5 separate regions of the Homo sapiens genome follow, and all the other regions are linked to region 3. The links are contacts of gene promoters, found by promoter capture Hi-C in human tissues and cell types (Jung and others, 2019). All regions are on one chromosome and are shown on one strand. The core of a region is centred on a gene start or on the middle of the fragment in contact, and the rest is flanking DNA. Distances in the headings are between cores, read along the strand shown. Region 1 overlaps PI4KA (phosphatidylinositol 4-kinase alpha). Region 2 overlaps PI4KA (phosphatidylinositol 4-kinase alpha). Region 3 holds the start of SCARF2 (scavenger receptor class F member 2). Region 4 overlaps PI4KA (phosphatidylinositol 4-kinase alpha). Region 5 overlaps PI4KA (phosphatidylinositol 4-kinase alpha).

Region 1 (2,700 bases), core at 188-2,687, 310 kb after region 3:
CCTTCCTCTCGTGAGCAGCCCCCAAGTCTTGCCACAGACCTGGCACCTCACCTGGTGTGAGCCGTCAGATGCCCTCCTTGTGCCCTGGCCAGCACTGGCCCCACAGGCGCTCCTAACACACAGAGCAGCCTCTGAGGCATCTATTATTCTCAGGCCCTAGACTGATGCTTCCAGTCTCCATTCACACTAGTGCTATTTGGATTTTGAGTTCTTCATGTCTCTGTAAAGCTTTTTTGGGAGTTTGAAGGAGCTTATGGCAATTGCCTTTTGATGGTTTCAAGTACCTGCAGGTGGGACTTGGTGACGGTAGGTGCCCACTTCATGGCCTCCTGGAGGATCATCCCACAGCGTGCAGCGAAGTCCTTCACAATGCTCTGGAAGAGGGTGAAGCTGCTTCTCAACAACCCGAGGTCAGTTCATCTGAGCTGCCGTAGTGACTGTCATGGGCTGAACTATGTCTCCCCAAATCCCTATGCTGCGCCTTAACTGGTACCAGTACCTCAGAGTGGAACTCATTTGGAGATAGGGCTTTAAAGAGGTGATTCAATTAAAAGGCTGATAGGGTAGGTCCTGATCCAATCTGGCCAGTATCCTTCCTTACGTGTGTGCAGAGGAAATCTGGACACACAGAAATACTGGGGCAGGGAGGAGGGTGTGCACAGAGGGAAGAACACGTAAAGACACAGGGAGAAGGCTGCCATTCACAAGCCAAGGAGAGAGGTCTCCACAGAAACCAGCTCTGCCAACACTTTGATTTTACACTTCGGCCCTCAGAACTGTAAGACAATCAATGTCTGTCAAGACCTTTCAAGCTGCCCAGTCTATTGTCTTTTGCTACAGAAGCCCAAGAGACTAGCACAGCCACTAAGTTTGAACCTCAAGGCCCCTGGGGCCAGGAAGCCCACACACACTATGATCTGTATGTAATTCCTGCACAAGGTTTGTGGCAGAATCTACAAGAATAACATGTCACAGGGACACTGTGCAACTTGTGTCCTGGGTCTGGGACTGGATGGAAGGGCAGGCTCTGCGTGGCAAAATCCTCTTCGGTGCCACACCACTCTGTGGGAAACTCCCCATTGACAGCTGGTCTGGCAGAGGTCCAGAGGTAGGACATGACTCAGCCCAGGCTGAAGGAGCTGTGAGCTGAGTTGCAGTCTTGCCACAGTGAGGGCTCTGAGACCGAGTTGGGGAGAGGAGAGACCCAGTACATCCTCCTCTTTTGGAGTGATTTATTCTGCCAGTTTCCCCATTGGATAGCACAAGTCAAAGGCATGATCCCCTATTACCACAATAACAAAATGTCAGTGCACCTCAGAGAAGTGAAGTCCACCTGAAAATCATGCTTGTGCGACGCAGACTCGAGAGGCTATAAACTGGCTGGTAGCTGAAGACCTCTTTGGCAGCTAAACCGAGAACACAGCTGAGTCAACATGGCTGAGGTGGGGGAGCTGGGCTTGGAAGACAGAGCGACCTGGGGGCAGCCAGCTCCCCTTGCACTCGGTGGAGCCTGGCAATGGCTTGGTCTCCTCACTGGGGGATGGGGCCAGCACCACCCACACCTCAAATTGCTGGGGACTGGGTGAGCTCATGCAGGTTGACCATCTCGTGGAAATACTCAGGGAATTGTGGTAAAGATGGCCCTTAGTGCAGGGGATCGTGTCGGGCCTACCTCACGGGCTTCGTACGTGTCAGGAACCGTGATCCGGTAGGGGGCGTCGGGGATGTCATAGTAAGGCTGATCCTTGTGAATATCCTGCAAGCACAGCAAGACTCCCTCTTCCAAACTGCCTTCCCCAAGTTGCCACTAGCAACCACATGGGCCACCCCTACCCACCACCTGTCTGTCTGTGACAGGCCTCCATACTTGATGCAACTTATTGCAAAACACCAGGTGGATTTGGGCCCCCTCACCCCCAACTCGACACCTGTAGCATTAATTATGTTCAGGCTTATTGTCAGAGAAGCATGCCACAACACAGGGCGGACAGGGCCGGCGGGGTGGTGGTAGAGCGGGTGGTGTTTGGGCCCTAGGTCTCCTGGGGACACTCACAGCGCTCAGTGACAGTGACAGGGTCTGCAGGATGTCCAGCATGGTCTTCAGCACAGTCCCGCTCCAGAGCAAGTGGGGAAACCTGCACCAAGAGCCAGCTCTCAGGACCAAGAGCCAAACCTCCAAGGAAGGTCTGCTTCTAGGAGCCCCCTCAGCTGCCAGCCCGAGCCCATATCTGCTTCAGGCCAGCTGAAGGAGGAGGTCGGGAGGCCCTTGCAGCAGGATGCCTGGCCTCCTCAGGCTCATTGCAGTAAGGTGAGCAACGCCTGGTCAGAAAGGCTCCCCAGGCCCCTGCCAGCCCCACTTCTTAGGGCCAGACAAACCTGACACCAACTGCCTTGGTTATGCACTGGCCAGGACACCCCTCACTTTCCAAAGCAATCCTCTTAGTTTCTGACCAGGGTTCTCCATTATTTCTCACATAATGGAGAAAACAACAGTATCTACCTGACACCCTGGGGTAAGACAGGCCATGGGCTCCGATGGCCCCAGGGCTGAAGGAGAGGTGTCTCTGCACAGCTGTGACCCACCAGTGGCCCACTGCTCAGGAAGCCCAGCTCAGACACACGCCACGTGTGTGCTGGACTCGTTCTCGTGACCCCTGGCTGGCTCCTGACCACCTGTGGTGGCGCTGCTGCCTGGACCAG
Region 2 (2,700 bases), core at 144-2,643, 410 kb after region 3:
AAAGCTAAAGTAATCAAGACAGTATACTAGCCAACATCAGGAAAGACATACAGACCAAATAAACCCTCACACTTACAGTCAACTGATTTTTGACAAGGGTTCCAGGACCCCTCAATGGAAAAAAGAATAGTCTTTCCAAGAAATCGTGCTGAGACAACTGGATATTCACATGCAAAAGAATGAAACTGGACCCCCATCTCATATCACATAAAATCTTAACTCAAAATGGATCAAAAACTCAAATGTAAGAGCTAAACTATAAAACTGCTAACAAAAAACACAGGTGTAAGTCTTTGTGACCTTGAAATTAGACAGTGGTTTCTTAGATACAACACAAAAAGCACAAGGGACAAAAGAAAAAAAAAATGACAAAATGGACATCATCAAAATTTAAAACTTTTGTACTTCAAAGAACACCATGAAGAAAGTGAAAAAGCCCACAGAATGGGAGAAAATATTTGCAAATCATATATCTTATTAAGAAACTTTTATCTAAAATAAAGAACTATTACAACTTAATTAAAAAAATACTACAATTTAAAATTGGGCAAAGAATCTGAATAGATATATCTCCAAAGAAGATCTACAAATACCCCAAAAGAGTGGCTGTTCTAGGATAGAATAGGCTGGCTCAACATCATTAACCATCAGGCAAATGCATATCAACAACAGAATAATAAGATCCCACTTCACATCCACTAGGATGGCTATAACTGGAAAGACAGACAATACAGAGTGTTGGTGACAATGTAAAGAAAACAAGCCCTCTGTACACCGTTGGTGGGAATGTAAATGGTGTAGTAACTTTGGAAAACAGTCTGGAGTTCCTCTAAAGGTTAAACCTAGAGTTATTGTATGGCCCAGCAATTCCACATCTAGTTAAAGACCCAAGAGAAATGAAAATATGTCTACAGAAACACTTGTACGTGAATTTCCATAGCAGCGTTATTTATAATAGTCAAAATGTAGAAACAATCCAAACATCCACCTACTAATGAATGGATAAAATATGGTATATGCATACAAATATTATTTAGTAATAAAAATGAAGTAATGAGATGCTACAACATGGATGAACCTTGAAAATACGCCAAGTAAAAACCATCATGGCAGGTGCAGTGGCTCACACCTGTAATCCCAGCACTTTGGGAGGCCGAGGCAGGTGGATCACAACAAGGTCAGGAGATCAAGACCATCCGGCTAACACGATGAAACCCTGCCTCTACTAAAAATACAAAAAATTAGCCGGGCGCAGTGGCGGGCGCCTGTAGTCCCAGCTACTCGGGAGTCTGAGGCAGAAGAATGGTGTGAACCTGGGAGGCAGAGCTTGCAGTGAGCCGAGATCGCGCCACTGCACTCTAGCCTGGGCTCCAGAGCGAAACTCTGTCTCAAAAAAAAATAAAAATAAAAATAAGCCACCACAAAAAACCACATCTTATAGAATTCTATTTCTACAAAATGTTCAGAATAAATCTACAGAGACAGAAAGTAAACTAGTGGTTGTCTAGGGATGGGGCTGGTAGGGCTGCAGGGTAACAGCAAGGTTTCTTTTGAGGGCAATGAAAATGACCTAAAATTGATCATGGTGATGGATGGACAACTCTGTGAATACACTAAATATGATGAACTGTACATTTTAAATGGGTAAATTTTGTGGTATGTGAATTATATCTCAAGAAAGCACTATTGAAAAACCTAGCCTATGAAGGATCAAATCAAACCACAAGCAACTGCCGACCAGAACAAAGCCCAACATTCCCTAAAGTAACACAACAAAAATCTAAACACTCAAGCCAGGCACGGTGGCTCGCCTGTTAACACCAGCACTTTGGGAGGCCAAGGCAGGTGGATCACTTGAGGCCAGGAGTTCAAGACTAGCCTGGAACCCCGTCTCTACTAAAATACAAAAAATTAGCTGACTGTGGTGGCGCATGCTAAAGGAGTCCCCATAGGTCTCTGGGACTATAAATACTCATTTAAAAAAAAATTTTTTTTTTTGAGACGGTGTCTTGCTCTGTCACCCAGGCTGGAGTGCAGTGGCGTGATCTCAGCTCACTGCAAGCTCCGCCTCCCAGGTTCATGCCATTCTCCTGCCTCAGCCTCCCCAGTAGCTGGGACTACAGGCCACCACGCCCAGCTAATTTTTTGTATTTTTAGTAGAGACGGGGTTTCACCGTGTTAGCCAGGATGGTCTGGATTTCCTGACCTCGTGATCCGCCCGCCTCGGCCTCCCAAAGTGCTGGGATTACAGGTGTGAGCCACCGCGCCCGGCCTACTAAAATTTTTTAAAATTTTCGCTGGGTACAGTGACTCAAGCCTATAATCTCAGCACTTTGAGAGGCTGAGGTGAGTGGATCACTTGAGCCCACGGTTTGAGCTAAGCCTGGGCAAGATAGTAAGACCCCATCTCTAAAAAAATTTTTCTTTTTTTACTTAGCCAGGTACAATGTGCGTGCCTGTAGTCCCAACTACTTGGGAGGCTGAGGCAGGAGGATCCCTCAAACCAAGGAATTCAAGGTGGTAGTAAGTTATGATCATGCCACTGCACTCCAGCCTGAGTGAAAAAGCAAAACTGTCTCCAAAAAAATGTAATTTCTATTTTTAAAAATGTCTAGGCCAGGCACAGTGGCTCATGCCTATAATCCCAGCACTTTGCGAGGCCGAAGTGGGCAGACGGCTTGAGCCCTGGAATTTGAGACC
Region 3 (2,700 bases), core at 20-2,519:
GCCCCCTCGCAGCCCCTTGTCTCTGGCGCCGAGCCCCTGGACTCGGCTTGCCCCGGGTCCGTGGCTCAGGCGCCCCGACGCGACCCAGCTCGGAGCCCGGCGGCCGCCTCTGCGGCTGCCAGCCCGTGCGGCGTCTCCAATCCGCGCCAAGGCGCCCCCACACGCCCGCTCCTCACCCCTGCGTGGAGATGCCCTTGACCTTGTGGCCTTTGGCCAGCCCACCGGCTCCCCCGACCCCAGCTCCTAACTCCTGGCGTCCGGGGCTCACCTCTCTGCCCTCCGTGCAAACTCCCGGACTCGCCCCCCCACCGGCCGGGCCTGTCGCCTGCCTGTCCCACACTGGCTTCCCCAGCCGGCGCCCCACATTTGCGCGGCCCCTTCTTGCACCCAGAATCCCCACCTGGTTGTCGCCAGGGTTCCCACATCCTCCGGTCCCCTGTGCCTGTCATAGTCCTTCCGCCTCCCGCTTCTGGTCCACTTCGAGCGCCGGCTCCTCGACGCTCGCCTGGGTCACCACCCTCCCACCCGCGCCCGCTCTAAGACGCGAATCTGTCTTTCCAAGTCTGGCTTGCTCCAGGACCTCCCCGGCTAGCACCGCTCCTCCTCCCCTGACCTTCCTCCTCACTCCCACTCCCGGCTCCAGTCGGACTAGTGCGGGGCTTTAGCACATGCAGTTCCTTTGGCTTGAATGCCCTTCCCCAGCTTTTCCCCGTGGACTTCACAACTCGGTCAAGGGTCCCTTTTTCCAGGTCTTTCCTGATATCCCGGACAACGCGTGTCATCCCCTGGGTGCCCACGGCACTCCATCCTCCCCTCAGGTGACTTCTCGTCCAGGGTTCCCTGGGATGCACTGTCGTGGCCCATGGCCGAGGCTGGGCCTGGAACGGAGCCGCGCTGGCTAGGGAGCCGAAGGGGCCCACACTTGGCGTAGGAAGGTTCCGGTAGCCCCCTCCCAATGCCCGGCGCCGCCACACCACTGCCCAGAGCGTCCCTCTCGCCCCCTCCCCCAGCCAGGCCGGCTCCTACCCGGGAGCACGGCACACGTTGCGGCCGCGAGGGTTCAGTTCCTGAGGCGCCACGGTGTCCGGCAGCATCCAGAGCAGCAGCAGCAGCAGCAGCGACGGCAGCAGCGGTGACGGCGGCCCCCCGGCTCCCCGGCGCCGCGCCGGCCCGGCCCCCCGGGGCCCTGCGCCCTCCATGAGGCGCGGGGCAGGCGCGGGGCGGGCACGGGCGCGGGTGCGGCCGCAGCGAGAGCGGCCGGAAGCGGAGTGCGAGGCCGGGCGGGGGGCGGCAGGAGGGGCGCCGAGCCGGGCAGGAAATTCCACATCGGCTCCCTGATCCCGGGCCAGCCGCGGCCGGCCAGGCGGCAGCGCCCGCCCCGCGCTCCAGACCCCACCCTCCGGCCTAGCCACCGCCCCTCCGCGCAGCCCCCGCCCCCATTTGGCCGCTCGCAAACTTGGGGGCGAACTTGGAGGAGGCCCGCCGAGCGCTGGTGGAGGGAGGGTCCGCCCGAGGAATCCCCGGTTCCCGCGCCTTTCCCTCCGCTCCCTAGACATCTACCGAAGCAGCCGCCCCTGCGCGCCCACTGCGTAGGCCAGGCCCGGGACGGGAAGGCGGATCGGGGACACGGACGCGACTCCGCAAGCCCACCCCCGCTCCCAGCGCCTCGGAACCGGCCAAGGGAGTGGGGCCCGCAGACAGCCCAGGTCGAGGCCGAAAGCCAACTCCACAGCACCCCACCGCGAAGTCCTTGTAGTGCTGGGGTGTGCGGTCAGCTCCCCCTGCGCACTCCTGCGCACTCAGAGCTCGCAAGGGGCGGACCGAGCAGGATGCTTGAGGCCTGTGGTAGACTCGGTCCGGACCAGAGGCCTGGGGGAAGGGGTCTCCGTAGGGACGGATGGGAGAGATACAGAGGAAGTAGAATGGCCAGGCTGTGGACTGCGGTAGGAAGTAGAGGTAAAGACAGAAGGAGACCCCCGGGATGGAAACCCTGCAGTCCTAGTTGAGGAGTGAAGGGGGCTGGGGGAGCCTGGGCGGTGGATTCTGCTGGCTGTCGGATTTCCAGGAGAGGCTGGGGCTAGAGAGTGGGAACTCCTGCATCAGGTAAGGTGGGTAACAGCACAGAGCAGAAGGAAGGTGTGGGAAGGGAGCAAGACAGAGGGACAGGCCCTAGGGAGCCAGCGGGGAAGCTGGACTTGGACTGGGAGGCAGCAGGGTGCGGGTCCCCGGGGGGCAACTGGGGCAGACCGACTCTGGAAGTTGGGCAGGGAGCACAAATGTCCCGTGTGTAGCCAGGTCCTAGTGAGGATGTTTGTCTTTTGGGGACTTGAGAGCTGGCAGAAGGCCTAAGCAGGGAGCGGGCACCTCCGTTCTTTGGGGAGCAGGCCACATGCGGCCCACAGGCTCACTGAGGGAGGGCAGGCAGACTCTGTCCAGGTGTGGCCAGATAGCCCCGAAGGGTGGGGCTGGAGGAGGGGGCTTGGAGGAGGAGCCACTGAAAGGCCCAAGGCCATGGGCATCACCAGGCTGGCACAGGCAGAGAGTGGGATGGGGAGGAGCAGGCCCCTCACTCAGCCATGCTGGTGCAGGAGGGAGGTGGGGTGGGCTGAAAGAGAAGTGGAACTAGTGTGGACACGAATGCAACTACCTGGGGACAAATAAACAGGCCAACCACTTCTGGGCAGCTCAGCCTGGGCACAG
Region 4 (2,747 bases), core at 202-2,701, 380 kb after region 3:
CAGCTACTTGAAAGGGCAAGGCCAGAGGATCATTATGACTGCACCCCTGCACTCCAGCCTGGGTGACAGAGCAGGACCCCAACTCAAAAAAAAGAAAAAGTCCAAGTAAAACAGGTAGTTTGAGAGGAAACTCAGAAGGCACAGGGTCTGCTGCTGTCTGTCCTACAGTGAGGCATTTCAGAGAGCAGGGCTCGCTTGTCTCGTCACCACTACAGGCAAAGTGGGCGGCAGCCAAGTCTGATGGAGTGATACGTGGGGATCTCGCAGTCAGCCACATTAGTGTGCTCCCATCTGCCACTTACTGGATGTGCTCAAAGTGGGGCAGCGGTCATGGAGAGGAGCCCTCACCACAGAGGGTGGACAATGAGCTGTTTACCAGGAAAAGGGAAGCCTCCAAGGGCACATCATGGCCATCCTAAAATGCCCCAAAGGCAGGCAGGTGGCAGTGAGATTTTCAGAGCCTGGAGGAATACATTCTATACTTAAACAAGGAGTTGTCTCTAAGAGGTGCGATTCTGAGTGGCTGAAATTAGCTCTTATATTCTAACACATATATAGAATGTAACCTGTTACATTCTCACAGATCTAAGAGATGGAAAGCTTCCTACATTTATGTAAGCCCAGATATTCCCTTTTTCCTTCAAAATTCCCCTCACATCTCTCGAAACTGTCTTGAGACATGCTCTTTTAACAAATAGCATTATTCAAAAAAGGAGAGACTATACTGAAGCATGGAATTCTGCCTTCCCCATTTGCTGTCCCTTAATCTGGGTCTTACTTCCATCAAGTAAGGTAGAAATAATTTTAACATGTGTCTGACATGGCACAGGGTAGTCACATGAATCCAATTCAGTAAATTATGTAAAAGTACTTTGTGAACAGCAGAGCTCTATAAAAAGTAGTAATGGGCTGGGTATGGTGGTTCACGGCTGTAATCCTAGCACTTTGAGAGACCAAGGCAGGCGTTCCCTTGAGCCTAGGAGTTCCGGACCAGCCTGGGCAACATGGCAAAACCCCATCTCTACAAAAAATACACAAGTTAGTGGGCGTTGTGGAGGGTGCCTATAGTCCTAGCTACTTGGGAGGCTGAGGTGGGAGGATCACTTGAGCCCAGAAGGTTGAAGCTGCGGTGAGCCATGATCATGCCGCTGCACTCCAGCCTGGGTGGCAGAGTGAGACTCTCTCTCCAAAAAAAAAAAAAAAAAAAAAAAAAAAAAAAAAAAAAAGTAGTAACAGTAGTATTACTACATTCTTTAATATTATCTACATACTTAATGTCATTAAAAAAAAATGTCCAGCCAGGTGTGGTGGCTCATGCATGTAATCCTAGCACTCTGGAAGGAAGAAATGGGTGGATCACTTGAGGTCAGGAGTTCAAGACAAGCCTGGCCACCATGGTGAAACCCTGTCTCTACTAAAAATACAAAAATTAGCTGAGCATGCTGGTGTGTGCCTGTAATCCCAGCTACTTGGGAGGCTGAGGCAAGAGAATTGCTTGAACCCAGGAGGCAGGGCCTGCAGTGAGCCGAGACTACACCACTGCGCTCCAACCTGGGCAACAGAGCCAGACTCTATCTCAGAAAAAGAAAAGAAATATCCACCATTAGTACTTCCACCTGAAAAGAACTTTTACAAGTTAAAGTGCAAAAATTCTGATGGCAGGTATATAGGGGTCTGTAAGTTATTTTCTGTACTTTTCTCTCTAAATAAAATATTTGAAAATTAAATGTACTTTTCTCTATATATAAAATATTTGAAAATTAAATTTTAAGAAACTTAAATGAAAACAGAAAATAAATGCTTCCTAAAAGCTTGGCACTCTAGGTCCATCCATGACAACAGAGTTAGTATCAGCATCCTTAATATCACGAGAAGTCACTGTGAGCCTGTTCTCCAAGTATTACGTCAAAATATTCTTCGGAAAGGTGAAGCCCACCTTCAAAGTAGTGAAAGGCAGATCCTCCAGGGGAACTGGGAGGGGGCATGCCGCGTTCAGGGCTGACCTGAAACACACAACCACAGTTACATATCAGAAAAGACCAGTGAGACCTCCATCAGATTTGTCTTAGACAAGGTCCTCTCTGCCAGCCCAATGTTTGTACTTCAAGTTCTGGTTGAAGCCTCATTTCCTTCCTAAAGCCCATCACAGCTACAGCATTCTCTACTACATGCTATATCACTAAATTCTTTGTGTTTAGCCGTATATTTGACACTTGATTACTGAGCTGAATTGTCCTCAGTGTTTTGTGTTTTTGTCTTTTCTCCATGAGTCAATTATATACTTCTTAAGGGCACCAACTGTCTTCCAGGCAAAATAGCATTTGGCACCCAACTGCTATGAAACATATACTTTATGACTATGAAATCACTTATAAATCTTATGTTGGGGACTAGCCTCAACACCACCTGTAGGGTATTTGATGTTTGGTGGCGACAAAGGAATGAGAAGAAACAGGTTAAGAGTTTATAAAGGCGGGAGCCAGGGGACCAGAGCAAATCAGAGGCCGCAAAGGCCTAGAGTTTTGGTTTTTACACTATTTATTGAGTATAATCACTTAGATTTAAGAAGCAGATGTTTAGGGCGAAACGGTGAAAGGGAGGCAGTGTGTCATATGTGTAATCTATAGTAGCGGCAGTTTAAATGAATTTTTTTTGTGTTTAAACAGTATATTTTCAACTTATTGGACAGCAGTTAGTGGGAGCAGGCTTAACTAGGAGTCTGTATGTTTGGCCATATTTTCATGTTT
Region 5 (2,700 bases), core at 57-2,556, 280 kb after region 3:
CATTAAACAGCGCTCTTTGAGGACCTCAATAAACATTTCTGACAGTGCAGGGGTCCTGAGGCTGTGCTATTTGGGAACCGCTGCCCTGGGCTGACGGCCCCTTCCTCACATGCAGTCACAGTTGTGTTGACCATGGAGACTCTGCAGAAGCAGCCACTGGAGCAGAAGGGTCTCACTCGCACTTGGGAGTGCAGGGTGGCATCGGACAGCAAGTTAGCAAAGGTGTCATGAAGGAGGGGTCCTGCTCCCCTGTGTGCTGAAAGGTGAGAAGTGCCCCAGCAAAGGGTGGGAGTGGAGGGGTCGGTGAGCTGGGGCAGTGCAGGCTGGCGAGAGCCCTGGGGGCTGTAGAAGGTGCTTGGCAGTGCACTGAAGACAGTAAGTGAGGCCTGTGGGAGGACAAAATACTCACGGTCTTTCTGGTGGCCCTCTTCATCTAGATAAATGTTAGTCTTCATGTTCCAGATGAACTGGTGTGCCAGAAGCTGGGATTTAGACGCTGCCCACAGAATATACTCCCGCACATAGCCCATCTGCAGGAGAGCAAGGTCCCTGTCAGCCAGGCTCGGCCCTCTCCATGAGGAGGGCCTTGTCAGCAGCTGCTGACTCCCGGCATTTGGTAGACCAGGCAAGGGTAAGGCCCGGTGGCTCTAGTGGTGTGGACAAGCTCTCCAGGATTGATGTTGAGTCCAGCCAGTGGCCAGGCCAAGTTCCAGCTGGCTGGGGGCTGGGACCTGGGGGGCAGGGTTGCAAAGCGGGCGACAGTCAGCCTTTGTCTCCTCTGTGTCTTCCCATGGGTTTAAGAAGCACAACTCTCAAACCAATTTCTGGAGTTGTCAAGTACGAGAAAAAGCAGGCTGGGTACTAAAAACTCACTTGTGAGCTGGTTGTTTAGAACAATGTTCCAAAGTGACAGACAGGTTCCAGAAACATGCAGAGATACCTCCTTCACAAACTGACACACTGATATGATTAGGTTTTGTGTCCCCACCCAAATGTCATCTTGAATTGTAATCCTCAGGTGTTGAGGAAGAGACCTGGTGGGAGGTGACTGGATCATGGGGACGGTTCCCCCTTGTTGATCTCATGACAGCGAATGAGTTCTCAGGAGATCTGATGGTTTTATAAATGTTTGACAGTTCCTCCTACACACACACTTGCTCTCTTTCGCTTGCTGCCAGGTAAGACGGACCTACTTCCCCTTCCACCATGATTCTGTTTCCTGAGGCCTCCCCAGCCACGTGGAACTGTGAGTCAATTAAGCCTCCTTTATAAATTACCCAGTCTCGGGAAGTTTTTTTGTTTGTTTGTTTGTTTTTGAGACAGAGTCTCGGTCTGTCACCCAGGCTGTAGTGCAGTGGTACAATCTCAGCTCACTGCAACCTCCACCTCCCAGGTTCAAGCAATTCTCTTGCCTCAGCCTCCCGAGTAGCTGGGATTACAGGCGCACACCACCACATCTGGCTAATTTTTGTATTTTTAGTAGAGACAGGGTTTCGCCATGTTGTTCAGGCTGGTCTTGAACTCCTCACCTCAGGTGATCCACCCACCTCAACCTCCCAAAGTGCTGGAATTACAGTTATGAGCCACCGCACCTGGCCAGGAAGTTCTTTATAGCAGTGTGAAAATGGACTAATATACACAACTGTGGTCACCATCCTAAGGACCTATCCTCCTCTTCCTTCTTGGTCATTTTCCGCCACTCATAGTAGTAACTCCAGTTTTTCTTTTTAATTAAAAAAATTTTTTTTGTTCCTAGAGCCATAAGTTTTGAAACTCCAGTTTTAATTCCATGCCCTAGGTTTAAAAAGGTGAGCTGGCCTTTCTGGGCAGCCTCCTGGAGTCTGTGGCCACTGATCTGGTGAAGTGTCCCTTGGATGGACATTTTTGACCTGGGTGAGTCGGGGGTGGTCTTACCACACAGGCAGAAGTCTTCACTTTGGGTTTCCCAATTCTAACCCGGCAAATGGATCTAAAGACAAACTATGAATGTTCAATGTGTAGTGTTTTTAAATATAAGTTTGCTTTTTAATTATGTAAACACTGACAGAGTTCCAAAGTCAAAATTATTAAATATGGTACATATCTGTCAGTTCCATCCTGATCTCTCCCTCTTTGGCCATTTTTATTAACTTTTGATTTACTGTTCCTTTTTTTTTTTGAGACAGAGTCTCGCTCTGTCTCCCAGGCTGGAGTGCAATCTCAGCTCACTGCAAGCTCCGCCTCCCGGGTTCACGCCATTCTCCTGCCTCAGCCTCCCGAGTAGCTGGGACTACAGGTGCCCACCAAGCCTGGCTAATCTTTTTTTGTATTTTTAGTAGAGACGGGGTTTCACCGTGTTAGCCAGGATGGTCTCGATCTCCTGACCTCGTGATCCACCCGCCTCGGCTTCCCAAAGTGCTGGGATTACAAGCGTGAGCCACCGCGCCCGGCCTACTGTTCCCTTTTTTTGTAAAAGTATAAACAAATATGTATATACATTTGTATTGCCATAGTGATATAAATTTTTTTAAACTTAAAAAATATTCCAGGCTGGGTGTGGTGGCACACGCCTGTAATCCCAGCATTTTGGGAGGCCGAGGCAGGTGGATCACCTGAGGTCAGGAGTTTGACACCAGCCTGACCAACATGGGGAAACCTCATGTCTATTAAATACAAAAATAGGCTGGGTGTGGTGGCTCACGCCCGTAATCCCAGCACTTT

Evidence for each region. Contacts are between HindIII fragments. The study calls those that stand out against the background at their distance.
Region 1: a contact is called between a fragment that was not itself captured here and the fragment with the promoter of SCARF2 in region 3, in 3 of the 25 tissues and cell types used here (dorsolateral prefrontal cortex, hippocampus and lymphoblastoid cells).
Region 2: a contact is called between a fragment that was not itself captured here and the fragment with the promoter of SCARF2 in region 3, in 2 of the 25 tissues and cell types used here (liver and thymus).
Region 4: a fragment that was not itself captured here is called in contact with the fragment with the promoter of SCARF2 in region 3 in 1 of the 25 tissues and cell types used here (hippocampus).
Region 5: a contact is called between a fragment that was not itself captured here and the fragment with the promoter of SCARF2 in region 3, in 3 of the 25 tissues and cell types used here (IMR-90 fibroblasts, dorsolateral prefrontal cortex and spleen).

The regions. Positions count from the first base shown.
Region 1 is chr22:20,749,621-20,752,320 of GRCh38, forward strand. It overlaps PI4KA (phosphatidylinositol 4-kinase alpha), which reads right to left. Exons shown (of 55, transcript NM_058004.4): 26 at 2,054-2,135; 27 at 1,673-1,756; 28 at 285-374. Among named protein-coding and RNA genes, the nearest start is that of SERPIND1, 23 kb to the right of the region's middle. RefSeq lists enhancers at 706-825, 1,847-2,644. The HindIII fragment of the contact is 5,728 bases long and covers 1-2,700 here.
Region 2 is chr22:20,848,464-20,851,163 of GRCh38, forward strand. All of the region lies in intron 1 of PI4KA (phosphatidylinositol 4-kinase alpha), which reads right to left. Among named protein-coding and RNA genes, the nearest start is that of PI4KA, 9.0 kb to the right of the region's middle. The HindIII fragment of the contact is 9,318 bases long and covers 1-2,700 here.
Region 3 is chr22:20,436,556-20,439,255 of GRCh38, forward strand. It overlaps SCARF2 (scavenger receptor class F member 2), which reads right to left and starts at 1,270. Exons shown (of 11, transcript NM_182895.5): 1 at 1,027-1,270. The coding sequence starts at 1,199. It overlaps LOC107985588 (a long non-coding RNA gene), which reads left to right and starts at 1,441. Exons shown (of 2, transcript XR_001755623.2): 1 at 1,441-1,956. The HindIII fragment of the contact is 17,878 bases long and covers 1-2,700 here.
Region 4 is chr22:20,816,547-20,819,293 of GRCh38, forward strand. It overlaps PI4KA (phosphatidylinositol 4-kinase alpha), which reads right to left. Exons shown (of 55, transcript NM_058004.4): 7 at 1,937-2,003. Among named protein-coding and RNA genes, the nearest start is that of PI4KA, 41 kb to the right of the region's middle. The HindIII fragment of the contact is 4,714 bases long and covers 1-2,747 here.
Region 5 is chr22:20,720,889-20,723,588 of GRCh38, forward strand. It overlaps PI4KA (phosphatidylinositol 4-kinase alpha), which reads right to left. Exons shown (of 55, transcript NM_058004.4): 43 at 410-530. Among named protein-coding and RNA genes, the nearest start is that of SERPIND1, 52 kb to the right of the region's middle. The HindIII fragment of the contact is 5,585 bases long and covers 1-2,700 here.